Linked DNA regions of Homo sapiens: all the other regions are linked to region 5. The links are contacts of gene promoters, found by promoter capture Hi-C in blood cells and fetal thymus (Javierre and others, 2016). All regions are on one chromosome and are shown on one strand. The core of a region is centred on a gene start or on the middle of the fragment in contact, and the rest is flanking DNA. Distances in the headings are between cores, read along the strand shown.

Region 1 (2,700 bases), core at 136-2,635, 790 kb before region 5:
TTTATTGAGTGGAAGTAGCTCTCAGCAGATGGGGGAGCCAAAAGGGAGAATAGTTTTCCCCTGAAGTCGGGTTATTCAGCGGCCCAGGCTCTCCTCTGGCTGCCCCAGCCAAACTCTATGTCAATCCATTGGTCGGTGGCCTGCCAGAGTGCTGGTGCCTGTTGGTGGATTCCTCTCAGCGTCGAGAGTTTTTCCCTCTCAGGAAAGGGAGAGAAGTGGCAGCCACCCATGTGTTCTTGCACTGATGTGCTCCTCTCGACGTCCAACCTCCTGTGTGTCTGCCTGCTAGGGTCCCAGGGTTTTTTTAGGCACAGGATAGGGCATGGTGGGCCAGGGTGATCTTGGGAAATGCAACATTTGGTCAGGAAAACAAAAATGCCTGTCCTCATCTAGGTCCAGGGGCACAAGCCCAGGTTTGGAGCCCTAGCCAGGGACCCCGGCCTCCTCTACCCATCACTTTCCTTCACCTTTTCTGTATCATTCAAAGGGACCATGCCCTTCCCTTCCCAGCACTTCTCTTCTGTATCAATAGGTGATGTTTTTAAAATTTCCCAACTCTAGTGCAGGCATGGTACTAGACATATACATAGAAATAAAACCACACTTATTCTTCTGGCTGGCAAGACATAGTATTTTTGCCAAATTATGTGTTGTTTTGAAGCATTTTATGTACCCCTGGTCATATAAAAATAAAGCTATTTTGTTCAGTACAAACAGCAGCATTTTCTGGATTAGAAAGTTAATCATCTTAAAAGATCATCACGGATTTTTCCATTGCACTCATCACTAATTGCTTTGGCAAAAAATTTCTTATCTCACGCATGACAAAATCAGCCGCAGTATCTCCTAGTAATTTAATGGTGATGATCTTTATAAAGGAAATAAGCACATCAAGGGAAAACATAATTTTTTTAAAAAAAAGAGTAATAAAACTTTTTAAAAGTCTTTTTTAAAAGACTGCTTTTCTAAAATAGTAAAATAAAACTCCACCAATAAAACCACCAACAAAACAGAAAAGAAAAAATAATGATATGATCGGAGCTATTTGATGAAAGATGGTAAATTAAATTTAAAATGATTAGAAGAGAAAAAGCAATACCTGTCTCCCGTAGGTCTCAGTCCAGGTTCTGCTATGCCTTTCTCCTGGTGAGCCACCTATTTAAGAGTCGCTTAAAGCATATGTTAATCCAACAACAGCAGATTAAAAACCAATGCAATCTGAACTATTTGATCTAAAAACATAAATAAAATTTAAAACAAATAAAAGAGAAAAAGCAGTACCTGTGTCCTGTAGGTCTCAGTCCAAGATCTGCTCTGACTCCCTTGTGGTGAGTTAGCCCTTTAGAAGTCACTTGGGGTGGGGCATATGTTAATTCCACTAACATTGGTTCTGGCCAATGAGTCAGGAAGGTGGTAAATGGCACCTTTTCTTCTTGCTGATTTCTTTCAGTTCCTTTGGAGTCTGGACATTAGTCCTTTGTCAGATGCCTAGTTTGTGACTACTGTTTCCTATACTGTGGGTTGTGTGTTTACCCTGCTGATATTTCTTCTGCCTTGCAGAAGATTTTCGGTTTCATTAGGTCCTATTGATCTTATTCTATTTTTATATTTTTGCGTTTGCTTTTGGGGCATTAGTCATGACTACTTGGCCTAAGCCAATGTCTAGAAAAGCTTTTTGGATGCTATCTTGTAGCATTTTTAGACTTTCAGGTCTTAGATGGAAGTTTTTATATGCTTTGTTAAAGATCAGGTGACTGAAAGTACCGGGCTTTGTTTCTCGGTTCTCTATTCTGTTCCATTGCTCTATGTGCCTATTTTTATACTTCCTGCACCATTTATTGAATAAAGTGTCCTTTCCCCAATTAGTGTTTTTGCATACTTTGTTGAAGATTAGTTGTCTGTAAGCATTTGGCTTTATTTCTGGGTTCTCTATTCTGTTCCATTGCTCTATGTGCCTATTTTTATACTTCCTGCACCATTTATTGAATAAAGTATCCTTTCCCCAATTAATGTTTTTGTGTACTTTGTTGAAGATTAGTTGTCTGTAAGCATTTGGCTTTATTTCTGGGTTCTCTATTCTGTTCTATTGCTCTATGTGCATATTTTATACCAGTATCATGCTATTTTGGTGATTGTAGCCTTGTAGTATAATTTAAAGCCTGCCTTCAGATTTGTTCTTTTTGCAAAGTATTGCTTTGGATATGCGGTCACGTTTTTGGTTTTGTATAAATTTTAGGATTCTTTTTTCTAGTTCTGGGAAGGAGAATGATGATATTTTGATGAGAATTCTACTGCTCTGTAGATGGCTTTGGAGAGTATGGTCACTTTCACAATATTGATTCTACCTATTCATAAGCTTATAATGTGTTCCCATTTGTTTGTGTCAACTGTGATTTCTTTCAGCACTATTTTGTAGTTTTCCTTGTAGGAAACTTACATTAACCTACTTGGTTAAGTATATTTCTAAGTATTTTACTTATTAAAAATTCTCAGGGAAATGCAAAGTAAAACTGAGGTGGGAAATTAAAGAAAAATAAAATTAAAAAGAAAGGGAAATAAGCTTTCTTGTATTAAGCTAACTTGTCCCAGAGGCAGCAACAGGCACAGCCCAGACCCAGGAAAAGTCTTGATAATATTATTTATTGTATTCTGGAGACTCTTCCAGCACTCCTTCAATGTAGGGAGAAGAAAAACAAATTT
Region 2 (2,841 bases), core at 191-2,690, 530 kb before region 5:
GGTGGACTTCTTCCCAGTGCCTCCATAGCCATAGGAGAAAGGCTCTTCGCCTGACGGAAGAAATAGGCAAAGGCAGGTTAAACCTGCGATGGTCATAACAGCCTCAATGGCTGCCACATACTTTTATTTTTGAAGAAAAAAATCATTTTCTTTACTAGTTTTATTAATCAGATGCCTTTTTAAAATAGGGGTGGGGAAGGGTGAAAGGAAGCCCTTAATGATGTAGAACTTGGAGGGCTTGATGGGTTTCATTGTCCAGTCTGGGAGTAGGAGCTCAACTGAATAACTCTGCACAGAGGGGAGAATTTGAAAAGAAAGGGAGGAAGGAAGACAGGAGTTGGGATGGAGGAGAATGGCTGTATGCTGAGATGCAACCCTTCCTTGTGACACCCAATATTCAGTCCAGTCTACTTGTGGTAGAAATCAGTGAAGGGGCTGGATTTTGCTCCTGGAGACCATGAGGACTGACCCCTGGGAAAGGTACTAGATTTCCTCAGGCTACAGAACTGGGTGCTGAAGTGATATGACTGAGAGATCCCAAGGGCTCTGGCTGACACCTGAGTTAGAGATTCCGGGCAGAACCCAAAGAGTATGCTGTTAGAAAAGCAGGGGCCGACAAGCATGAATGCCAGGGCTCGTTCTGCTACAAACCAGCTATGTGACCCTGGATATGGTGCTTGACCTCCTGGGCTGTTTCCCCATCCCTATCAACTGCCACCACCTACATCTCAAAACGGAGACAGAGATAAGATGAGATGACTTATGAGTCTTAAATAAAAAGTGCTAACACATATGGAAATGAAAACTGTATACTTTTTTTTTTTGGTGCTAACATATCTACCTTTTTGAGGAGGTACCAATTTATGGGGTACATGTGCAATTCTGTTACATGCACAGATTGCATAGTGGTCAAGCTTTTAGGGTGTTCATCACCTAAAAAATGTACATCGTACCCATTAACCAATTTCTCATCCTCCTCCACCTTGTTACCCCCTAACACTTCTGAGTCTCCATTATCTATTATTCCACTCTCTAAGTCCATGTGAACATATTTTTTAAACAAACACTTGTGAGTGAGAATATCATCTATTTTTAAAGATTAGTCTTAAGTGGTCAGGCAATTATGGACCAGGATAATGGCTCAAGTGTTAAAACAGCAAAAATTTGCAATAAGTTTAAATGAGCTACAGAAGGGGACTTGTTAAATAATGCAACTATAAAATGGAAAATTATGCAGTAGTCAAAAAGCTGCAGTTATTTACAAAAATATGCCCATCATACATTAAAACAAGGCTATACAAAGTAGTCCTAGTGTGATCCAGTTTAAAGATGTACAAAAAAATAAATGTCCAGAAGACTACAAATGGAATGTTAACATTGGTTAGTTTCTCTCACAGGTTTAGGAAGGATTTTCATTTTTCCCTTTCTGTATGGCCTGAATTCTTATACGCAACACATATTATTTTCATAATTGGAACGTTTGTATGATCATAAACGGAAGGCAGGAGGTGTCAGCATTGGTCAGAATAATCAGTCACTTGGGACCAGAAGGTCATTGAAGCCTGGGGACCCGCAAAATTCAAAACCTTTCAATAGGCAGCCCCTGCCCCTCTCCCAACTAGCCCTGGCCTCACTGGTCTCTGCTCCCCTTTTTCCTCTAGGTTAGGCTCCGGACAGAAAATACAGACAGAACTTAATGGAGCTTGGGAACTTATCAGCAGCTTGGTTTAAGGGCAGGAGACACTGATCCTTTTTACAGAAAGGGAATAGATTCCTAAAGAGAATTTTGGACCCTCTCCTAAAAGATGAAGGATAAGAATTGATTCTTCACAGAAAAGTTGTTTCATGACCATAGTCCTCTCAGTTGAATACAGCATGACAGAGACAGTGGCATATACCTAATCCTTGTACCTGTTCCACTTCAGCCTAGTTCTATTCTAAGTCTGACGCTGGAAAAGGAAGCTTAGGAGCCTTGAAAATCCAAGGGTAGGGACAGTCACTCTATTCTCTGGACTGCATAGCTGACCCCTCCTTACCTAGCTGGGTGCTGCAGGAGTCCAGGGACCAGCCGATACGGACCACGTGGGGGTCAGGCTCTGTAGACGGAAGGTGCTTCACGGAGATTTCCTCATTGATCTGAGGAAAGAGGACAAAAGGGCTCAGGGTTGCTTCTCTGGAGGCCGTAGGTTATGAGCCAATATAGGAGGGAAGCATATCAGGCATTAAAAAATAGCAATGGCTTTTCTTGCTGGAGAAGAAGCGTTTAAGCAGCTCTGAAAAGCCTGTTGAACCGAATCGAAGCCAGGGCCTCCAAAGGGATCAGTAGAGTACAGGGCCACAGAGACAGGCATTTCAAAATACGGTTATGTTTTAGTTTAAGAGACTCTTGTAACATCTAGTAGAAAGATAAACTGTTACAGTGTCTTTAGAGGGCAATCTAGAAGTCTCTATCAAAACTGTAAATGGCTGGGGATGGTGACTCACACCTGTAATCCCAACACTTTGGGAGGCCAAGGCAGGAGGATGGCTTGAGGCCAGGAGTTAGGAACCAGCCTGGCCAACATAGCAAGACCCCATCTTTACAAAAACATTAAAAGAAAAAAACAACAAAACCCCATAAATGCACATGCTCTATAACTCAGCATCCTATAGATACACTAATATGTGGACAAGTATGTCTACGTATGTGTGACTGTATTTGTATATGCAACATTCTGTGCAGCATTGGATGTATATATGTGCACATATATATATATATATATATTTTAACATCAGAAAAAATATCAATAAAGCACTGATTATGGTATATCCATGCCACAAAATATGATGCAACAGTTAAAA
Region 3 (2,700 bases), core at 74-2,573, 550 kb before region 5:
GGAGAAAGAAGGGCAGGCTAGAGGTTAGAGTGAAGACCAGTAGCTGGGGCATGTGTTGATTTCCCCAGATCCGCCTCCACCTAACTTGCTCAGGTTCAAAAGCACACGTGCGATCACTACATACAAACACACACTCATTCTCTCACCTGTGGAGGGCTGTAGCTGCTGACGGTGGGGGTGCTGGTATTGGCGCTTGAGCCAGGGATGTTGCTGTTCTTATTGTAGGTGCTGGCCCCTGGGGGGTTCCGAGCAGGGCTGTAGCTGGGTGGTGGCGGTGGCTGCTGGGGTGGTGGCTGTGGTGGCGGAGGCTGCTGTGGTGGCGGCTGTTGCTGGGGAGCCCGGTTGTAGCTGCCTCTGTTGTTGGAGTTGTTGTTATCCCGGTTGTTGTTACCCCAGCGGTTCTGGCTATAGCCACCACCTCCGCTGCGGTTGAAACCTGTGTTGGAGAAATCCAGATGAAAGGCGCCATCATTCCCAAATGGCAACCCCAGGGAACTGGGTTGTCTTGGTGACTACTGTGAGCCGGCATGGCCAGGCGCAGAGCAAGAACTCAAGGTGAACAACAAAGCATGTCCTCTGGGATTCTCTAGACCCCCGGGCATACTCCCCTGTCCCAGCCCTTATGACAGGTTTGTCTCATTCACTGGACTGCAAGAATGGTGAGGCAGAGACCAAGGCAGTCCTGGGTTTCTGTGTCCCAGCATCTCAATAGCTGTTGAATATGCAGGAAGGAGATGCTCAAGGAGAGGAAGCTGGCAGGGTGCGGTGGCTCACATCTGTAATCCTAGCACTCTGGGAGGCTAAGGCGGGTGGACCACGTGAGGTCAGGAGTTCAAGACCAGCCTGACCAACATGGAGAAACCCCATCTCTACTAAAAATACAAAATTAGCCGGGCGTGGTGGTGCTTGCCTACAATCCCAGCTACTCAGGAGACTGAGGCGAGAGAATCGCTTGAATGCCGGGAGGCAGAGGTTGCAGTGAGCCGAGATTACACCATTGCACTCTAGCCTGGGCAACAAGAGCAAAACTCCGTCTCAAAAAAAAAAAAAAAAAAAATGAGAGGAAGCTAAGCACTGGTGACAGCCATGAACGAGTCACATCTAGTCCTCTTCAGACCTGGCCAAAGATGTAGCCCCCATTTCCAATAGATTTTGATCTAGATCCTATTTCCAAGGAGCTCATGGTCAGATGGGGGAAGGTTCACAAAAATGACAGCAATGTGACAGAATGTGCACTGTGATATGCAAATGGGCAAAGGGCTTCATAACCAGCGTCCAGGGAGTGGGAAAGTGGGAGCGTTTCTGAGGTCTCCGTGTCTGACTTGTTTCAAGTTTTCTACCAGAGTATAACTCACAGCTGGAGCTCAGAAAACTTCAGTTGCTGATTGAATAAGCAGTCAAAGCCCAGCCCCAACCTGGGAACAGAAAGTGGAGAGTGCTGTGTGTGAGATGTCTCACCTCCTCGGTAGTTGCCTCCTCCACCGCTGCCTCCCCCTCGGTTCTGGAAGCCGCCACGGTTGCCTCCAGGGGGTCCTCGGTTTTCATAGCGCTGGAAGCCACCACCACCCCCGCGGCCCCGGAAGCCACCACCACCTCGGTTGTCAAAGCGCTTTTCAGGGGGTGGCCCAGCCTTGCGGCCTTCCTCGTTGTACTGCCTCACTAGCTTGTCCGCTTCCTCCCGCTGCAGCTCAATGAACAGAACCTCATCCAGGAAGTCCCCAACATCTGGCAACGTGAAGTTGGCTAGGAGGAAGGAAGTGCCCCAAAGAGAACAAGAAGAAGAGGTCAGTACCTTCTGAAGTCTGGTCCCCTCCACCCAGAAGAGTGGCCTTCCAGAAGGGAGAAGGTGAAGAAAACTGGAATAGTGAATAAGAAAGACATAGACAGAAGGGCGGGCGCGGTGGCTCACGCCTGTAATCCCAGCACTTTGGGAGGCCGAGGCGGGTGGATCACCTGAGGTCAGGAGTTCAAGACCAGCCTGGCCAACATGGCAAAACCCCATCTCTACTAAAAATACAAAAATTAGCCAGGCATGGTGGTGGACACCTGTAGTCCCAGCTACTCGGGAGGCTGAGGCAGGAGAACTGGGTGAACTCAGGAGGCGGAGGTTGCGGTGAGCCAAGATCGCACCACTATACTCCAGCCTGGGTGACAGGGCAAGACTCCCTCTCCAAAAAAAAAAAAAAAAAAAAACAGAGAGAGAGAGAAAGAGGTAGACAAAGCCCCAACCCCTCAGCCTGCTAAGTGTCAGGGGCTAACAAAGACTCCTCCGTTTTCTGAAGAGGTGGCTAAGACCCACCTAGACACAGTGCACAGCTCCCTCAGGCCTCACCCCAGGGAATGGGTCAGACAGATGGCATCACCATCCCTATATTTACAGAGAAACAAACTGAGGCCTGCCCACAGTCAGCCCATCTGGGACCAGAGGCAGGGTGAGCACACAGGACTTTCAGCTTTAGCTCCCATACATCCTTTCCCTTGTGCTGCCCCAGCCCCATCCAGCCTGAAAACCCCAACATAAGACAGATGGGTAGCTTTTCCATTCACAGCTGTGGTAGACAAGGAAGGGACAAAGCAGAAGCAAAGAAAGAGTAAGATCAAAAAAGAAATCACTGGGGAGCCAGGGAAGGACAAACTGAGTAAAGAGCTTCTTCTCTCCAGGACCCTGCATTGACGTTCCTCTGGGAAGCACTCATTTCC
Region 4 (2,862 bases), core at 44-2,543, 610 kb before region 5:
CAGGGGGAGACGCCATCTCAAAAAGTAAAAAACCAAAATTATAACGAGGGTACAACATTTCAATAGGATAACATTTATATTAAACAATTCAATGGAATACTTCACTAGTTGATATATGCATTATTAATGGGGTCTCCCTATATTCGAACTTCTGGCCTCAAGAGCTCTTCCCGCCTCAGCCTTCCAAAGGGCTGGGATTACAGTTATGAGCCACCGCGCCTAGCCAATGGTAGCTTGTAAATACTTTGTATCTATTGGCCTGGCTGGGTGGCTCACGCCTGTAATCCCGGCAGTTTGGGAGGGAGAACTGGGAGGATAGCTAGAGCCCAGGAGGTCAAGACAAGACTGGGCAACATAGCAACATAGCAGGACTCCATCTCTTAAAAAAAAAAAAAAGAATTAGCCAGCCGTGGTGGTGCATGTCTGTGATACCAGCTACATGGGAGGCTGAGGTAGGAGGATCCCTTGAACCCAGGAGTTAAGAGGCTGCAATGAGCTGTGATCGAGCCACCGTACTCCAGCCTGGGTGACAGAGTGAGACCCTTTTAAGGAGCCTTGATGGGACCTGATGACTGGCTTGATGTGGGAAATGATGGCATCTAGGATGGCATCCAGGGACAACATCTCCATTTCTTGATTGATAAATCAATCAATAGGAAAGAGGATTTTCTGCAAATAAGGGAATCTTAGTTCCTCATTTCTCTTCGCTACCCCAACCGCTCCTTGCTCAGAATCAAGCAGTAACAGTGAACTTGGTAGTAGCTCCGAGAAGGAAGTTGGACTTATCCAACTTCCTTCCTTCCTTGTCCTTGAGAAACCTAGGGGAACTCTAAAACGGAAGCAGAACCCACTCCCCAACTTCTCCACTCTCTGAATGAGGAGTGATTTTTTTGCTTTGTTTTCCAGTTACAAGGCCGGGGATGTACACGAGGTCCTGGAAGGAATTCCCCCTTGGTCCTGGTTCAATCTCTGATTTGTGATCCCGGACCACAGAGAGCTCTTCGGTGGGGTAGGCGCAGCACGGAGCAGTTAGGGATTTGCTTTTTTGGTAAAGAAGGTATCTGGGAGAAACTGCACTCAAACTTCCTCAGCCACACTCAACATGGCAGCTTCCTAGCCACGCCCAAAATGGCGGAACCCTTTGCCGTAGCTGGAGAGACGCTATTTTCCCAAAATGGAGCGGAGGAGGAAAATGTCCATCACAGCTTCACCCCGCCCCCCGCAGACGGCTAGCACCAATTAGTAGCGCGCAGAGCGAGTACAAAGCTAGGGGAGGAGCCTGCTGTTGCCCCAGCAACAACCACGGAAACCAAGACGAGCGCGGTCGCGGAAGTATCGCGGCTTACATATCTCGCAGCCAGGCGGGTCCTGGGAGAGGCGCGAGCCAGGCCTGGTCGGCGCCCGCGGAGAAAAGAAGCAGTCAAGCCCATGAACTACAACCCCGGTTGCCGCTTTCTCCTCTCCTAACCGTTAAGTGCGCTAAGGTAGGAATGACGCATGCGCTGCGCTTAGAGGCGGGGTTAAGTCGGACCTGAACTCATAACGCATGCGCCTTATGGAGCTTGCTGGGGGAGGGAAGCGGGGTGGCTGGCGTGACGCGGAAGGCGGGTCTTTTGCGCTCGTGGGCGGAGCCATAGCCCCTTCGGGCGGGGCTTTCCGCCGACCTGAACCCGAAAAGGTTATTTTGGACTTCCCAGAGTTAAATGCTGGTTCCCCAGACAAGGGTCCCCCCATTTTTTCCAGGCTTTCATGGGTTGGCAATTAGGATCTGTGGTCAAGACCTCAGCCTCAGGGGTGTGACGAAGCTAGCTTGGAATCCTAGTACTACCCTTTACTTGCTGGGCCTCAGTTTCCCCCCCGTCAAATGGAGATAATACACTTACCTCACAGGGTTGTGATTATATTTTTCCCCTCCCAGGGCCATGGCTGAGGTGCACGTGATCGGGCAGATCATAGGGGCCAGCGGTTTCTCGGAAAGTAGCCTCTTCTGCAAGTGGGGCATTCACACAGGTATTCCCCCAAGCCTGGTTCATTTCCACACCAAGACCCCTAGCCTAGAGGCTACATGCTCCTTCCTCCACCCCTTAACGCAGACTCTTAACCTCATTTCCATCAGTTCTCAGTACTCCAGGCCCAGCCCACACCCTGTCCACATGAGTCTCAAGCTCCCATCTTTGTGTGTGTGAGGGGTGGGATACAGACAGGGTCTCTCTCTGCGCCCGGGCTGGAGTAAGGTGGTGTGATCATAGCTCAGTGCAGCCTCGAACTCTCGGGCTCTAGTGATCCTCCCGCCTCAGCCTCCTGAGAAGCTGGGACTACAGACACGCACCACCAAATCTGGCTAATTTTTTTTATTTTTTGTAGAGACAGGGTCTCGCTATGTTGCCCAGGCTGGTCTCGAACTCCTGCGCTCAAACAGGCCACCCACTTCAGCCTCTCAAAGTGCTAGGATTAAAAACGTGAGCCGCCACGTCCCAGGAAAGTAATTTTGTTCATGCTTCCCCAACTGAGGCCCTATAGAGTCATGGTATAGTGTAATGGTTAGGGTCATGGGCTGCCAGATCTGCATTTAAATATTAACTCCCCCACCTATTAATTGGAGACCTTTGGACTCGACCACTTTGAGCCTCAGTTTCCTTGTTTCAAAGTGAAGCTAATAGTAGCTAAGAAGCAGCACAGGTTTGAGGTTAAGAGCACAGACTGCCTGGGTTCAAAACCAGTTATTGCTTGTTAAGGCACCCTTGGGCTGATTATGTGAACTTGGGCACTTCTCTTCACCTCGACTTCCTTGTTTGTACAATGAGAGTCATAGAAATATTTACCTGTTGAAGTTGTCATGAGTACTAAACGAGTATCAACAGC
Region 5 (2,500 bases), core at 1-2,500:
GCTTCCTGGAGGAAGGGTCCTGTGACCTCAAACCTTGTAAGATGAGCAGCAGTGACCACGTTAAAGGGCAGAGTGTAAGATGAACTAATGGAGTGTTGAAGACAGGAAGTAGTTTGTGTAAAGGCCAAGGAGTTAACTCGAAGTTTGGCTGGACAAACACTTAGAAAGAGAGGCGGGTGCAGGGGACGGAAGAGGGGCCAGCCCGTGCGGGACAGTCTGGACTCCGGACTATCCCGAGAACTCACCATCCTTCTTGATCTTCTCATTGAGGTTGTTGATATAAATAGTGTGGTTAGGGCGGGTCTCGGGAACTGCCATGGAGTGAAGTGTTGAGGTAAGTCTTAAAGGAGGAAAAACGTGACTTTAGCCCTGGGTTTCTCCAAATCCTTTGTCCCAACGTCGGCTGCTCAAGGATCTTCCTCCGAAAAGGAAGTCAGGTAAGGCGGGAGTAGGGGCAAGGACGGAGGCAAAGCGCGACAACAAAGCGTGCGTAGGACCCGCTTCTCCAGCCCGCGTGCGGAGAGAACTCTCGAGAGATTTACTACGACTTCCAGGATGCTCTACGCGACCCGGTGGGCGGAGCACCCTAAATGGCGATTCCCATTGGCCCAAGCATCCGAAGGGCCGTCCCGGAGAAAAAACCCGGATGTGGGAGCCAGTATAGAAAAAAGGGACAGGTCCTAGGCAGCCTGGCCTCGAGCAGCAAGTTTCCTCAGACGGGCCCAGGAAGGCCCGGACGCCAAGCGTACCGCTCGCCTGCCGCCGATGGTCGTTTGCACCGGAGGTTACCTTCCGACAGGGCCGTAGTTCTCTCAACCGGCGCCTGCTACTTCCCTGAGACCAAACCACAAAGCTTTCTCTCCTGGCCCCGCCTCTGCCTTTCTGCCAGCCAATCGCCGCGCGGAAACGCAGTAGCTTGACCAATCAGAGCAAGTCTCGTTTCTGGGCTCAGCTGTTGCCAATCAAAACGATATTTGGGTTCCCGCCTAGGTAGAAAAACCCCGCCCCACTCCCTGAAAGCCCACCTCCTTCCGTGGCGCCCGGGTCTACGGACCAATCAGTGAAGGTCACGAGTCTGTACGCGTCTCGCGCTGCGGTGTCTTCCGGAGGCAATCCTTTTTGGAGTCCCGCCTCTTACCCCCGCCAGAGCTGCGTTTTCTGTCACGTGATCGCAAAATGGGCGGGAACTGTTGCGTGTAATACCACGTGATATGGGAAAGGCAGTGTGCGGGGGCCGCCATTTTCCGGGAGTGGGAGGTGCACTTTACTTCCTGACTCCTTTCCTTTTTCCAGTGGTTATCGCGGCGCCCACCGGCCTCTGATCTCTGAGTCTTCTCCAACCCACAGACGTTTTTTGTTGCTCTGGTTCCAGGACCTTCTCCACAACTAGGCCATTTTCCCTGCCAGGTGTCCTTTTTGACCTCTTGACCTCTGACTCAAAGGTCAGCTCAAAGGTTCCGAACTCGGGCCTGGGATGTGAGGGGGTACTGAACCTAAGTTCTCCGAATCTTTAGCCCTGGGTCCCTAAGTCGCATCCTTAAGGCACCTCACTCTAGATCTGAGCCTTCATATCCCAAACTCACTCATGAGTTTCCACATCCAGCCCCAAAGAATGAGTTAACTCCTACTAACTCTCCACCTAAGACTCCCGAGGTAACCCAACCGGTACCACAGATCCGGTTCCGGATTTAAGGACCCCACCCTGTTAACCGTCAGGTGCCTTATGACTTGAGTCAGCCTCGCAATTCCTGCTCCCGTGGTTTCAAATATTAGCCCTGGTCCTTTCACACCCACTGCTCAGTCCCCAGATTCTGGAACTCAGCTCTTAAACCTTTAAAATCTCCATCCCTGAGACCGTTCTCCGTTGGAGGATCCTTCCCTCCCCGCTTTCTGAACCTCTCAACACCTCCTGTAGACCCCAAAATGACTTCTCCATGCTCTCCTCCCCTAAAACCACCAATTTCTCCTCCAAAAACCCCTGTACCCCAAGCCAGCAGCATTCCATCTCCTCCTCTACCCCCAAGTCCCCTGGACTTTTCAGCTTTACCATCCCCTCCCTGGAGTCAGCAGACCCCTGTTCCCCCACCGCTCCCACTGCCTCCTCCACCCGCTGCCACAGGGCCTGCTCCCCGTCATGTCTTCGGCCTGGAGAAGAGCCAGCTCCTGAAGGAGGCCTTTGATAAGGCCGGCCCGGTCCCCAAGGGCAGAGAAGATGTGAAGAGGCTTCTGAAACTACACAAGGACCGGTAGGGTCTCCATGCCCCACCCACCACCCAGGCTCTGCCCTAGACACTTCACAGATCTCTTGGGGTGGGGGGGGGGTTCCCGTGTCCTCAAGATCAAACAGGCTGACTACTTAGGTCCCCCACCTAGATCTCTTCCATGGTGGTGTGCCTCCAGCAATGAAGAAAGCTGTCCTCACAAGTGCCCAGTCCAGTCCGGGTGCTTTGGCTCATGCATGTAATCCCAGCACTTTGGGAGGCCGAGGCGGGTGGATCAC
Region 6 (2,700 bases), core at 132-2,631, 680 kb before region 5:
CCACTTTGCCCCCAGTGCCCAGCACTTAGGAGGTGGGCAATAAATATTTTCAGCCTGACTGAATCTGTCTGTGTGCCTGGTTCTCTGGACTCTGCCCCTCTTAACAGCACTGGGGCATCGTGAGGGCTGTGGTGCTCCCCAGGCCTCACCCTTAGCTACCATTTTCTCTGCAGATCTTACACCTGGCTGGAGAAGCAACATGGTCCATACGGCGCAGGTGCCTTTTTCATCCTGAAGCAGGGAGGCGCAGTCAAGTATGACCGCTAAGGTGTTAGAACGGGCTGGGGCAGGTGGTGGGGTATCTCTCTAACATCCAGGTTCTGCAGTCACACAGGCTTCAGAGTCCCCTGGTCTCTGCCGCCTCCTGGCTGTGTGGCTTGGGACTTGTTCCTGAGCTTCAGTTTTGTCACGTGTAAAATGGGATGGTGGTCATTTCTAACCCACAAGGTTTGCTATAAAGAGTGAACAGGGGCCGGGCACGGTGGCTCACGCCTGTAATCCCAATGCTTTGGGAGGCCAAGGCGGGCGGATCACCTGAGGTCAGGAGTTCGAGAGCAGCTTGGCCAAAATGGCGAAACCCTGTCTCTACTAAAAATACAAAACTTAGCTGGGCGTGGTGGCAGGCGCCTGTAATCCCAGCTACTGGGGAGGCTGAGGCAGGAGAATCGCATGAACCCGGGAGGTGGAGGTTGCAGTGAGCTGAGATTGCACCACTGCACTCCAGCCTGGGGGACAGGGCAAGACTCCATCTCAAAAGTGTCAAAAAAAAAAAAAAAGACTGAACGGAGCTGGGCACACTGGCTCATTCTGTAATCCCAGCACTTTGGGAGGCCGAGACAGGAAGGTCACTGGAGGCCAGGAGTTTGAGAACAGCCTCAGCAGCTTTGTGAGACCCTGTCTCTACAAAAAATGTTTTAAATTAGCCAGGTATGGTGGCACATGCCTGTGGTCCCAGCCACTCAGGAGGCTAAGGCGGGAGAATCGCTTCAGTCCAGGAGGCTACAGTGAGCTGTAGTCACACCACTGAACTCTAGCCTGGGCAACACAGGGAGACCTCATCACAAAAAATAATAATAGGCCGGGCGCGGTGGCTCACACCTGTAATCGCAGCACTTTGGGAGGCCGAGGCTGGTGGATCATCTGAGGTCAGGAGTTCGAGACCAGCCTAGCCAACGTGGTGAAACCCTGTCTCCACTAAAAATACAAAATTAGCTTGGCATGGTGGCGCACGCCTGTAATGCCAGCTACTTAGGAGGCTGAGGCAGGAGAATCCCTTAGAAGCCGGGATGCAGAGGTTGCAATGAGCCAAGATCACGCCACTGCACTCCAGCCTGGGTGACAGAGCAAGACTCTGTCTCAAAATAATAATAATAATGGCTGGGCGTGGTAGCTCATGCCTTTGCACTTTGAGAGGCCAAGGCAGGTACAGCACTTGAGCCCAGGAGTTCAAGACCAGCCTCGGCAACATAGTGAAACCTCGTCTCTACCAAAATACAAAATTACCCAGGCATGGTGGTGCATGCCTGTAATCCCAGCTACCCAGTGGGACCCTGTCAGGGGGAGTGAGAGATTAACTGTGATTTTGCAATGTAAGAAGCCTAGCAATGCATATGTGCTCAATAATTTTTTTTTTTTTTTGAGACAAGAGTCTTGCTCTTGTCGCCCAGGCTAGAGTGCAGTGGCACAATCTCGGCTCACTGCAACCTCCATCTCCTGGGTTCAAGCAATTCTCCTGCCTCAGCCTCCCAAGTACCTGGGATTATAGGTGCACACTACCACGCCCGGCTAATTTTTTTTATTTTTGGTAGAGACAGGGTTTTACCATGTTGGCCAGGCTGGTCTCCAACCCCTGACCTCAAGTGATCCACCCACCTCGGCCTCCCAAAGTGCTGGGGATTACAGGCGTGAGCCACTGGTGGCGCCTGGCCTGTGCTCAATAATGTTTTTCTTTCTTTCCTTCTTCCCCGCCTCCTTTCTCCTTCCCTTTCTCTTTCCTTTGCTTTTTTTCTTTTTTTGGAAAAGACAGTTCACATAGACTTCATCTACCCCTCCATCTGGTTTGAGCACTTCCTCTGGCAACTTCCTTAGAAACAGTATACATGTTTGAAAATGTCCCTTAACTTCTGCCCATCTACAAGGATTCTTGCATTTTACCTCTTTGCTCTTATGTTATCTGTAATCTCGCTGACCCTCAGTTTCTAGGTATGTAAAATTGGCAAAACATTCCTTTTTTTTTTTTTTTTTTTTTGAGATAGGGTCTCCCAGGCTGGAGCACAGTGGCATGATCACAACTCACTACAGCCTCGACCTCCTGGGTTCAAGCTATCCTCCCACCTCAGCCTCCCAAGTAGCTGAGACCACAGGTGCAAGCCACCAAGCCCAGCTAATTTTTGTTTTTTTGTTTTTTTTTTGAGATGGAGTCTCGCTCTGTCACCCAGGCTGGAGTGCAGTGGCACGATCTCGGCTCACTGCAAGCTCCGCCTCCCAGGTTCAAACAATTCTCCTGCCTCAGCCTCCCAAGAAGCTGGGAGTACAGGCGCCTGCCACCATGCTCAGCTAATTTTTTTGTATTTTTAGTAGAGATGGGGTTTCACCGTGTATTAGCCAGGATGGTTTCGATCTCCTGACCTCGTAGTCCGCCCACCTCGGCTCCCAAAGTGCTGGGATTACAGGCGTGAGCCACCGCACCTGGCCAATTTT

Evidence for each region. The method cuts DNA at HindIII sites, captures the fragments that hold promoters and counts their contacts. A CHiCAGO score of 5 or more calls a contact.
Region 1: the fragment with the promoter of LINC01480 here is called in contact with the fragment with the promoter of ACTMAP in region 5 in 3 of 17 cell types (total B cells, activated CD4 T cells and non-activated CD4 T cells); the score reaches 7.6 in total B cells.
Region 2: a contact is called between a fragment that was not itself captured here and the fragment with the promoter of ACTMAP in region 5, in 1 of 17 cell types (naive CD4 T cells). The highest score is 5.0, in naive CD4 T cells.
Region 3: a contact is called between a fragment that was not itself captured here and the fragment with the promoter of ACTMAP in region 5, in 6 of 17 cell types (total B cells, total CD4 T cells, naive CD4 T cells and 3 more). The highest score is 7.5, in total B cells.
Region 4: a contact is called between the fragment with the promoter of B9D2 here and the fragment with the promoter of ACTMAP in region 5, in 8 of 17 cell types (non-activated CD4 T cells, activated CD4 T cells, naive CD4 T cells and 5 more). The highest score is 9.7, in non-activated CD4 T cells.
Region 6: a contact is called between a fragment that was not itself captured here and the fragment with the promoter of ACTMAP in region 5, in 3 of 17 cell types (total CD8 T cells, naive CD4 T cells and non-activated CD4 T cells). The highest score is 5.5, in total CD8 T cells.

Annotation. Positions count from the first base shown.
Region 1 is chr19:41,534,183-41,536,882 of GRCh38, reverse strand. LINC01480 (long intergenic non-protein coding RNA 1480) reads right to left here and starts at 1,385. Exons shown (of 3, transcript NR_110724.1): 1 at 1,282-1,385; 2 at 1,100-1,169; 3 at 1-282. The HindIII fragment of the contact is 2,878 bases long and covers 1-1,673 here.
Region 2 is chr19:41,278,372-41,281,212 of GRCh38, reverse strand. HNRNPUL1 (heterogeneous nuclear ribonucleoprotein U like 1) reads right to left here. Exons shown (of 15, transcript NM_007040.6): 6 at 2,037-2,136; 7 at 1-50. Among named protein-coding and RNA genes, the nearest start is that of HNRNPUL1, 15 kb to the right of the region's middle. The HindIII fragment of the contact is 1,048 bases long and covers 917-1,964 here.
Region 3 is chr19:41,301,708-41,304,407 of GRCh38, reverse strand. HNRNPUL1 (heterogeneous nuclear ribonucleoprotein U like 1) reads right to left here. Exons shown (of 15, transcript NM_007040.6): 12 at 1,459-1,743; 13 at 147-436. Among named protein-coding and RNA genes, the nearest start is that of CCDC97, 7.1 kb to the left of the region's middle. RefSeq lists an enhancer at 1,428-1,767. The HindIII fragment of the contact is 4,477 bases long and covers 1-2,700 here.
Region 4 is chr19:41,362,580-41,365,441 of GRCh38, reverse strand. It overlaps B9D2 (B9 domain containing 2), which reads left to right and starts at 1,293. Exons shown (of 4, transcript NM_030578.4): 1 at 1,293-1,484; 2 at 1,919-2,010. The coding sequence starts at 1,923. It also overlaps a transcript of TMEM91 not described here. RefSeq lists an enhancer at 1,318-1,437. The HindIII fragment of the contact is 18,483 bases long and covers 1-2,862 here.
Region 5 is chr19:40,749,227-40,751,726 of GRCh38, reverse strand. It overlaps ACTMAP (actin maturation protease), which reads left to right and starts at 1,250. Exons shown (of 6, transcript NM_198476.5): 1 at 1,250-2,246. The coding sequence starts at 1,924. SNRPA (small nuclear ribonucleoprotein polypeptide A) reads right to left here and starts at 524. Exons shown (of 6, transcript NM_004596.5): 1 at 246-524. The coding sequence starts at 318. RefSeq lists enhancers at 1-545, 633-702, 1,243-1,482, 1,174-1,799 and silencers at 456-638, 903-1,042. The HindIII fragment of the contact is 2,474 bases long and covers 856-2,500 here.
Region 6 is chr19:41,433,946-41,436,645 of GRCh38, reverse strand. DMAC2 (distal membrane arm assembly component 2) reads left to right here. Exons shown (of 6, transcript NM_018035.3): 3 at 174-254. Among named protein-coding and RNA genes, the nearest start is that of DMAC2, 4.6 kb to the left of the region's middle. The HindIII fragment of the contact is 7,201 bases long and covers 1-2,700 here.